2 separate regions of the Homo sapiens genome follow, and region 2 is linked to region 1. The links are contacts of gene promoters, found by promoter capture Hi-C in human tissues and cell types (Jung and others, 2019). All regions are on one chromosome and are shown on one strand. Each heading gives the region's core, a stretch centred on a gene start or on the middle of the fragment in contact. The rest is flanking DNA. Distances are from core to core; before and after follow the strand shown.

What was found. Contacts are between HindIII fragments. The study calls those that stand out against the background at their distance.
Region 2: a fragment that was not itself captured here is called in contact with the fragment with the promoter of TTC8 in region 1 in 2 of the 25 tissues and cell types used here (adrenal gland and aorta).

Annotation. Positions count from the first base shown.
Region 1 is chr14:88,822,110-88,826,462 of GRCh38, forward strand. TTC8 (tetratricopeptide repeat domain 8) reads left to right here and starts at 2,542. Exons shown (of 15, transcript NM_144596.4): 1 at 2,542-2,712. The coding sequence starts at 2,599. RefSeq lists an enhancer at 2,194-2,553. The HindIII fragment of the contact is 5,735 bases long and covers 1-4,353 here.
Region 2 is chr14:88,864,581-88,868,933 of GRCh38, forward strand. All of the region lies in intron 10 of TTC8 (tetratricopeptide repeat domain 8), which reads left to right. Among named protein-coding and RNA genes, the nearest start is that of TTC8, 42 kb to the left of the region's middle. The HindIII fragment of the contact is 3,687 bases long and covers 787-4,353 here.

The sequences.
Region 1 (4,353 bases), core at 1,292-3,791:
TCGATTGTGAAACTAACCCTTTTAAAGGGCTTGTTTCTCTGTGCTTCACTTTCTCTAGGAGGAAAATGGTCCTAGTAACTCTTATCTATTCCCTTCACCAGGAATTGTTACATTGTCTATTCTTCCTATTACTAGCATATCTTTAAAAAAATGGTTTCTGCTTTATCAGTTAGATATTATTAAAAAATGTAAGTCTGTCTATAAATTCATAAAATCAATGAACCATAAACATATTTACATGATATTAAAAATAACATATTTTTATATCCTTTTAAAGACACATTTTATGCTACATTTGGACATGTTTAACATCCTGTAATTTACTAAATATCCTACAATTTTCCTCATTCATTTGACTTTTGTGAGAGGAAAAAAACAGCCTTCTGAAAGAAGTTAACACACATTATATGCTACTAAAATATTTTAATGCCTCATTTGTTCCACATTTATTTATATGTTTATTGGCATGTTTATTTCCCCACTTATGTAAATAGTGTTTCTCTGTAGGAAGTTGGCAATAATCTCAATAGATACATGACTAGAACTCAATGTAGTGGGTGATTAATCCTGGCTACCCATCAGAATCACCTGAGACACTTAAAAAAACAAAACCGATGCCCCAGTCCTACCTCAAACAATTTAAGTCAATATTTCTAGGGCTGGAATTGGGACATCTCTATTTTTAAGAACTTCTCAGATATTCTACAAAATACTTGACCAGCACTTTTCAACACTGTCAAGGTCATCATAAACAAGGAATGTCTAAAAAACTGCCACAGTGTCAGAGGAGGTGAAGGAGACATGATAACCGAATGTTATGTGGTACCCTAAGTGAGATCCTGGAATAGAGAAATAACATTAAGGGAAAACTACTGAAATCCAAATAAACTGTGGAGTTTATTTAATAGTAATGTACCATTGTTGATTCCTTAGTTGTAACAAATGTATCATCTTACACTAAAACAAATGTCAACATCTCACACAATAGAGAAACTGGGTATATGGGAACTGTCTACTATTTTTGTGACTTTTCTGTAAATCGAAAACTATTCTTTAAAAAAGTTTATTTAGAACATCTGACTATATGCTAGAGAGTAAAAGATAAGGATCTATGAACTGAGATCTAGCATCATTTGTGAAACTGACCCTTTTAAAGGGTTTCTCTGTGCTTCACTTTCTCTAGTAGGGTTGAAAATCACTTACATAGTAATCTGCTTACAGTGTACCAGAAAACAAAAAGACGCTGTGAAATATTGAGCCCAATTGTCAATTGTCGGCATGTGCGTTCTTAAAAATTTGACACTCAGAAACCATGGGCTGCTTCATTAGGACCTTTAGGGAGATTACATTTCTACCGGCAGTTCCAGGAGAACACAAATAGACTAATGACAATACACTTAACTGTAACAATGACAATCCTGATAATTACTGACTTCCAAAATACAACAATTCAAGAAAGACTGCTTAGTAGAGAATAAAAGGTAACAATAAATTTCTTAGTTTAGAAGCATAAGTTTCATTTTAATACCTATGAAAAATATAAATATGTGGATTAAATAGAATGTCTAATGTTTTCTCAGACCCCAGTGGTTTGAGAAAAGCCTACCTGGATTTAGCCGGTCACACCTCTCTTTTCATAACCATTGCAATTTTAAGCATATTTGTCATCTGTGCAAATTTCTAGAGAAAAGTCAGAATTGTGTTTGAAGAAATCACTCTGCACAAGTAAACCCTTGCCAAACAGCAAGTGCCAGGAGACGATGTTTCACAAAGCTTTTAAAAATTATTATTATTATTATTATTATTATTATTTTGCACACATTATCTAGTTTGGTAAAACTGTCACCAATTTACAATCCGGAATCACCATGTGAGTCGAATTAACAAATGTATTAGCAACTTGTAGTCAACCAGATTGCAGTTCCAGCTCCCTAACTCAATGCAATTTTAATAATTTCTCTTCTCTGAGTCTATCTCAGTTTCTCATCTGTAAAATGAGTAAAAGCAAACCACTTGCAGTTCAGATGTTGAGATTCGGTGGGAAGGACCTCGAGAAACAGCGGACAATTTCAGGATTTAGGACTTTAGGTCTTGATGGGTGGATGGTACTGTGGAAGCTGTTTACTTGTTTGTATTTCTAGAATCGGAAGGTAAAGCGAAAGGGATGGAAACGAGCGAATGGAAGAAGTAGGACAGACACCAGACAGAGATCAACTCCAGGGACTCTTCCGGACCTGCAGGGCAGGCAGAGCATTCGGTTGCTAGGCAGCTGCGCCTCCTGGGAGGGTGGGGGACCCCAGGGGCAGGTGTCTAACTCACTACCTTTTTGTTTAGCCGCGGTGCCTTCTTTTCAAAATCAATGAAACCTGTAGCCTTTAAAAGTAGACATCTTTTTCCAACCAAGTTTAGGCAAGCCCTGTAGCCGAGTTCTGCTTGCGGTTGTTTTTCTTTTTCCTGTTCTCAGGCGCGCTGCGGGCACCTCTCGGACAAGGCCCCAGCCGTCGCGGGTTGCCGGGCAGAGTCGGACGCCGCCAGCTCTTCACTCCACGCCCACCTCTCTCCTGGAGCGCTGGGCCTTCGCTGGCCGCACCGGCAGCCATGAGCTCGGAGATGGAGCCGCTGCTCCTGGCCTGGAGCTATTTTAGGCGCAGGAAGTTCCAGCTCTGCGCCGATCTATGCACGCAGATGCTGGAGAAGTCCCCTTATGACCAGGTACCGGCCAGCTCCCGTCAGCCTGTGCATCCTGACGCTGAGGCTGCGGGGTCTGGGGCATATCCCAGCCCCGGGTTGGGAGGCCGGGGAGGAAGGCCCGAGGCGGGGCTGACCGTTCGGCCCTCGGAGGCGCCCGGAGCGAGACCTTGTGGAGCTGTGACTAGCGGGTCCGCTGTCCGCCACGTCCACGGGGATAGCAAGTTCTGTGCCATGACCGCCCCCTCCTCACAATTTTCAGCCTCCCCTCCCCTATACGTGTCCCAGAATGAGAGCCCTGAACTTTACTTGACGAGGAACTTTGATAATTCGTTTATACTTGCATATTGATGGGCTTTAAGCTCTCAGCGTGTGCGTTGTTAATTTCTAAAAAATATGCATAAACAAAGATCTGTGACTCTCCACCTCCTGTTAACATAGCTGCCTTCTTCCTTTTGGATCGAACATGTGATCCTCCCACCTCATCTTTAGACTGTTGTCCAAGAGTGAAGGAGGCCATGAGTTTAGCTTGAGGCAAATATGCAAATTAGAAGAATGAGAATCTAGGAGGGAGAAAGATACATTCATTATTTAAAAAATTACCTAGGCAAGGGAAGCTCTAATTGTAGGAGGGAGAAATGGGAAAGAAAGGCTCCTTACAAGAAGGAATGATGGCATTGATGAAAAGAGAACTTAAACTAGAGTAATGTGTATAGCGAGTGGAAAAGGTAGTATACAATGTACGTGAGCGGTACAATTCTGGTGGGCAGGTGGCTCCTGGAATAGGCAAAAAAGGAGAAAATGGGAGAACAGAAGTAGCGCTGCGGCAGTTTGTCAGTGCTTTTAGTAAGTGCGGAATATACCTACGTAGTTCTAGTTCCCTAGCTTTTCCTCTAGTGGTGTTGCCTTGGAGATGTTAGAAAAAATGGAAAATTGAAGGGAGTTACAAAAGCGGAGGCCTGAGTGTGAATGCTGTTACTAGGCTCTGCCTTAGCTCCCAGCAAATGGATGATGGATGATAACCTGCTGAGATGAACATTTTGTCTTTCAGATAGTACATCTCTCTTAGAACAGCCTACGTTAGTGGTAATACAAAGCTAGGTTCTGTTGTTAGTTCACATTAATTAATAGGACTATATTTCTGTAGACAAGCATTTTTCCAAGGTTTTTTTAAATTTTTTTTATTTTTTTTTATTTTTTTTTGAGACGGAGTCTCGCTCTGTCGCCCAGGCTGGAGTGCAGTGGCACGGCGCGATCTCGGCTGTCTGCAACCTCCGCCTCCCAGGTTCAAGCGATTCTCCTGCCTCAGACTACCGAGTAGCTGGGACTACAGTTACGTGCCACCAAGCCTGGCTAATTTTTTTGTATTTTTAGTAGAGACGGGATTTCACCGTGTTAGCCAGGGTGGTCTCGAACTCCTGACCTCGTGATCCGTCTGCCTCGGCCTCCCAAAGTGTTGGGATTACAGGCATGAGCCACCGCGCCCAGCCCCCAAATGTGTTTTTGGCATAGTAATCTTATAGATATTGCTTAAAAAAATACACAATCAAATATGTTTGGGACTTGTGACAAAATATTGACCCTTTACGTTGGTACAACAGAAGCTTGTTAAGAACCTTTGATGTGGCCGGGCACGGTGGCTTATGCCTGTAAACCCAGCGCTTT
Region 2 (4,353 bases), core at 1,380-3,879, 43 kb after region 1:
GGATTCCTTTTCTCAACCTTTCCCTGCTCTAAGTTGACTGTACACTTGAAGGAAGAAAGAAGTGGAGAGGAAAGCATCTTAGCTGTAGGGACAATCATGCACAAATAGAGTGATCAAGGACTAAGCACAGATTTGAAATAGTTGGTGGCAGTATTTCTGTCTTTTGCCTTGAATTTGCATAGCTAATTTCCGTTATGTAAAGGTTTACCACACCAAAGTCAGATTTCCAGTGTATTCTTTTTCTCTTCATGTGACAATAGATGTCCAGTTAATCAGTAAATTGGTTTTAGCACCGCAGCCTGCACTGTGTGTGCCTTTAGGGTTTTTGTTACATACATCATGCTTGGCCCTGGCTGGAGGGATTCCATTCCTTTATGTTCTCTTCTTTTTTTTATCTTTCATTGTTGAAGATATCTTTTAAATATTGTCTATTTTAGGATGAATATGTTGAACTGCTTATTGTTCATTGTTTAAAATGATTTATCCTTGCCAGATTTCTTTGTTGGTGGTTTCAGTTTTTCTTGAGGTATTTTGTTTATTCATTTCAAAGACAGGTCTTAATTTTAGCCATTCTTTGTTGAAAGGCATTTGCAATTAAAAACCTTACCCTGGAAATGTTATTCTAGAGGTCTTCAAACTTTACTGTGTATGAAATTACCTTGGGAGTGGATGGGAAGTATGACCCATCCTCTTCCTCTGAATCAGAAGTCCTGGAAGGTGGGACTCAGGCATCTGGATTTTTAGCAAGCCCACTAGGTGATTGATTCTGTTGCAGAACAAAATTTGAAAACTACTGCAGCATTCATTTTCTGCAGTTGTTTAATTTTATTTTAATCCCAGAACTTTGGGATGCAGAGGTGGGCAGATCACCTGAGGTCTGGAGTTCGAGACCAGCCTGACCAATATGGAGAAACCTTGTCTCTACTAAAAATACAAAATTAGCCTGGCTTGGTGGCACATGCCTGTAATCCTAGCTACTCAGGAGGCTGAGGCAGGAGAATTGCTTGAACCCAGGAGGCAGAGGTTGCGGTAAGCCAAGATCGTGCCATTGCACTCCAGTCTGGGCAACAAGAGTGAAACTCCATCTCAAAAATAAAAATAAAAATAATAATAATTTAAAAATCTAATTAAAGATTTTGTGTCTACATTTTGTGAATTGGATCAAAAATAACCACTAAAAATCACTTGATACCAAATTTATTATATACTTGCAATGGCATTTATATACTTGAAAATGTAATTTTAAGTCTACATTAATAAAATCTATTCTAGAACTAGTAAAATTTAAACAACTCTGATAAAGGAATAAAGAAAATAGAGTCAATGTGTGTTCATATATATGAAAATTTAAGATGTGAGAAAGATAGCCTATTAAGCCAATTGCATTACTTGGTTATTTAATAAATAGTTTAAAAATAGAGCTGGATGAGTAATGATTTATACTATTAATTACTGCCAGATTTAAAACTTTAAAAATTTAAAACTTCAAAAAATGATACCCTGAAAGTTCCAGAAGAAAACACAGATGAATTATTTGTATAAATTGGAATGAGGACGATTTTTCTAATCATGACACAAAGTCAAAAAGCCATAATAGCAAAGATTGATAAATTTGAGAATGTAAAAGTTAAATTTTCTAAATGGCAAAAACAAAAAATAGAAACCAAACCCATATACAACAAAACAAAAGATAAAAATATCAAACAGGGAAAATAGTTGGCATACCTGGGACAGACAAAAGACTGCTTTTGATTTCCTCAAACTACACATTGCTTAAAAATTGCTGAAAATGGGAGATTTAAACACACACACACACACACACACACACACACACGCACACACAAATTCTCATCTATTTAGTCAAGAATGTAAACATGGAAACGAGGTATTTCCATGTCATGGTGTGGCTTTTCCTTAGGCTCTTGTTTCCTTTCAGCCTACACAGTGGCCATTGACCCTCTCTGTGAAAGTAAAATCACCACAGAGATGAGACAACAACCAAGTTCCAGCTGCATTGACTATACCGCCCCCCTTTTGTACTTAGGGCTTGGTGACACCTATTTGGAAGAACTTAATTAACCATCTATACTTTTCCTCTGAAGAGAATGTTTATAAACACTGAGCCTTCCTGTGTTGTTGAACTATGGTCAACATCAACACGGGCTCTTTTCATCTGGAATAGAACACAGTCAGTGCCCAGGGATTCTTGAGCCACACCTCAGCCTCCAGCTCTCCTGTGTCCAGGAGGGCAGTGTTCCACCCAAGACTCCCATACACACAATCGTGGAGGGACAAAAGATAGGATAGGATAGAAGAACAGACAAAAAATATGAATTGGCAGTTCACTGAAAGAGAAATATAAATAATATCTGATGTGTTAAATGCCTAACCTCTGTCATAATTAAAGATATAAAAAACTAAAACAACAGTGATAAGCCATTTTTCACTCAATCAGATCAGCAAAGATGAAGAAGTTCTATGTTATCTAGGGTTGCCAAGGGTGTAGAGAAACAAGCTCCATGTATGAACATTTGGAAGTTGTTTGCAATTATTGATGATATTTTAAAATGTGCATGCTCTTTGACCTGGCCATATTACTTCTAGGAATTTTCCTTAAGGATATTTTCATACAAGTGCACAAAGATCTGTACAAAGATGTTTTTATAGCATGTTTTTTGGTTAAAAAAAGGAAACATATGCTTGAACAAAAAGGGACTGGTTTAATAAATTATGGTCTCTGTATTGATGGAACACTATGCAGAAGTATTATTTAAAAATATGAAGTAAAGCTTTTGGTTTTGATATGGAAAGAGTCAAGACACTGAGAGTGAAAAAATAAACTGTATATTAGAATGTATAGAATGATTCTGTTTATGGTTAAAATATGCACACCCATATGTATGCTTATGTATGAACAAAATTTCCTGAACAATACTCAAGAAGCTATTAACAGAGCCTCTGCCTACTACAATTTGGGGATGGGGCATTTACTTTTAATTTTGTACCGTTTTGTAAGGTTTACATTTATTTAGTATAAGCACATATTTTATAAGTTTATAAAACTTAATTGAAAACCTACATACGAGGTTGTCAGTACAATAGGTGTTTCAGTCTAAAATTCCTCGAGATTACATAAATTAATTTCTGTGTCCATTAATTAAGTATACAAGTATTCAAAAGTAATTTTATAGAACCCAAAGTCTTGAACCAACTGGCTTATTGAGGCTTGAGCCTTCTTTGCATTGGGCGTTGCCACCTTTGGAAGCTGTAACACTGAAGCCTAGCACTGTGGGATGCTGTTGGCTTTGAAAAAGAATTTCAAATATAAAGCACATGAAGAAATATATATAAAACATAGATTTGGGTCAACTGGTGAATGTTTTGTTAGGGTTTTATGGGACTGATAAGTTACATCCCTGTTCTCCATGTTGAGAACCAACTGAGAGAGAGATACAAGATTTCGACAAATAGAGGTCAGACCATTAGCTTGATTACAGATAAAAGCAGAAGTGGAGCTTTTGGCTTTAGACCTATGCTCAAAAGGACTTAACAACCTTCTCGCTCTGGGTTAAACAGACTAATCTACCCTGTCACAAACATAGTTGTACCAACCTACAGACTTTCTCCACTCAGAAGAGCTTATTATTTTTCATAAAAATGTTATGTATGTGAACATGTAATAGGTTTATTTTGTGTTATTTAGAATGAATTAATAAGTAAATGTTTAAAGATAGCTCAGTTGCAATTTCTAATATTAATCTATATAACTTACATAAACAAAACTTCTTCTCAGCAATTTTTAACAGTTTAAAAGGAATCTTAGACCAAAACGTTTGAGAACCTCTGTTCTAATGGAAACATGGGAAGCTAAGAACATTTTTTAGAGTTGTTTAATTCTTGTTTATTAATTTTTCAGTTTCTAGAACACTAAATTTTGTGCTAAGAAATGGCACATATGATCTTGCTTTAAAGGAATTTACCATATTTCATGGACTCTAAAAACACATTTTTTTTCACATTTTAACATCTCTGAACTTGAGATACATCTTAAAATGGATAGCATCTTTTTATGGCCAAGTGGCAGTTGCCATGTAGTTGTCATAGTCTGTTTATATGGAAACTTGGGTAATTACTCTTGGGAGCATGGTGAACCTGGTAATTATTACTGGTTGTAGCCTGAAAGCTTTTGTTGACACCTGCTGGTAAGATCAAGAAAATCAAGAAAACACAGGTATCAGCATAGCAGAATGACTGTCCATAGGTTGGAAGAAAATCTTGGAGACAATAGTGGAGCACTTTTAAGAAATATTAAAAGTGGATTTTAAATGTTCTTACCACAAAGTATGCAAAAGA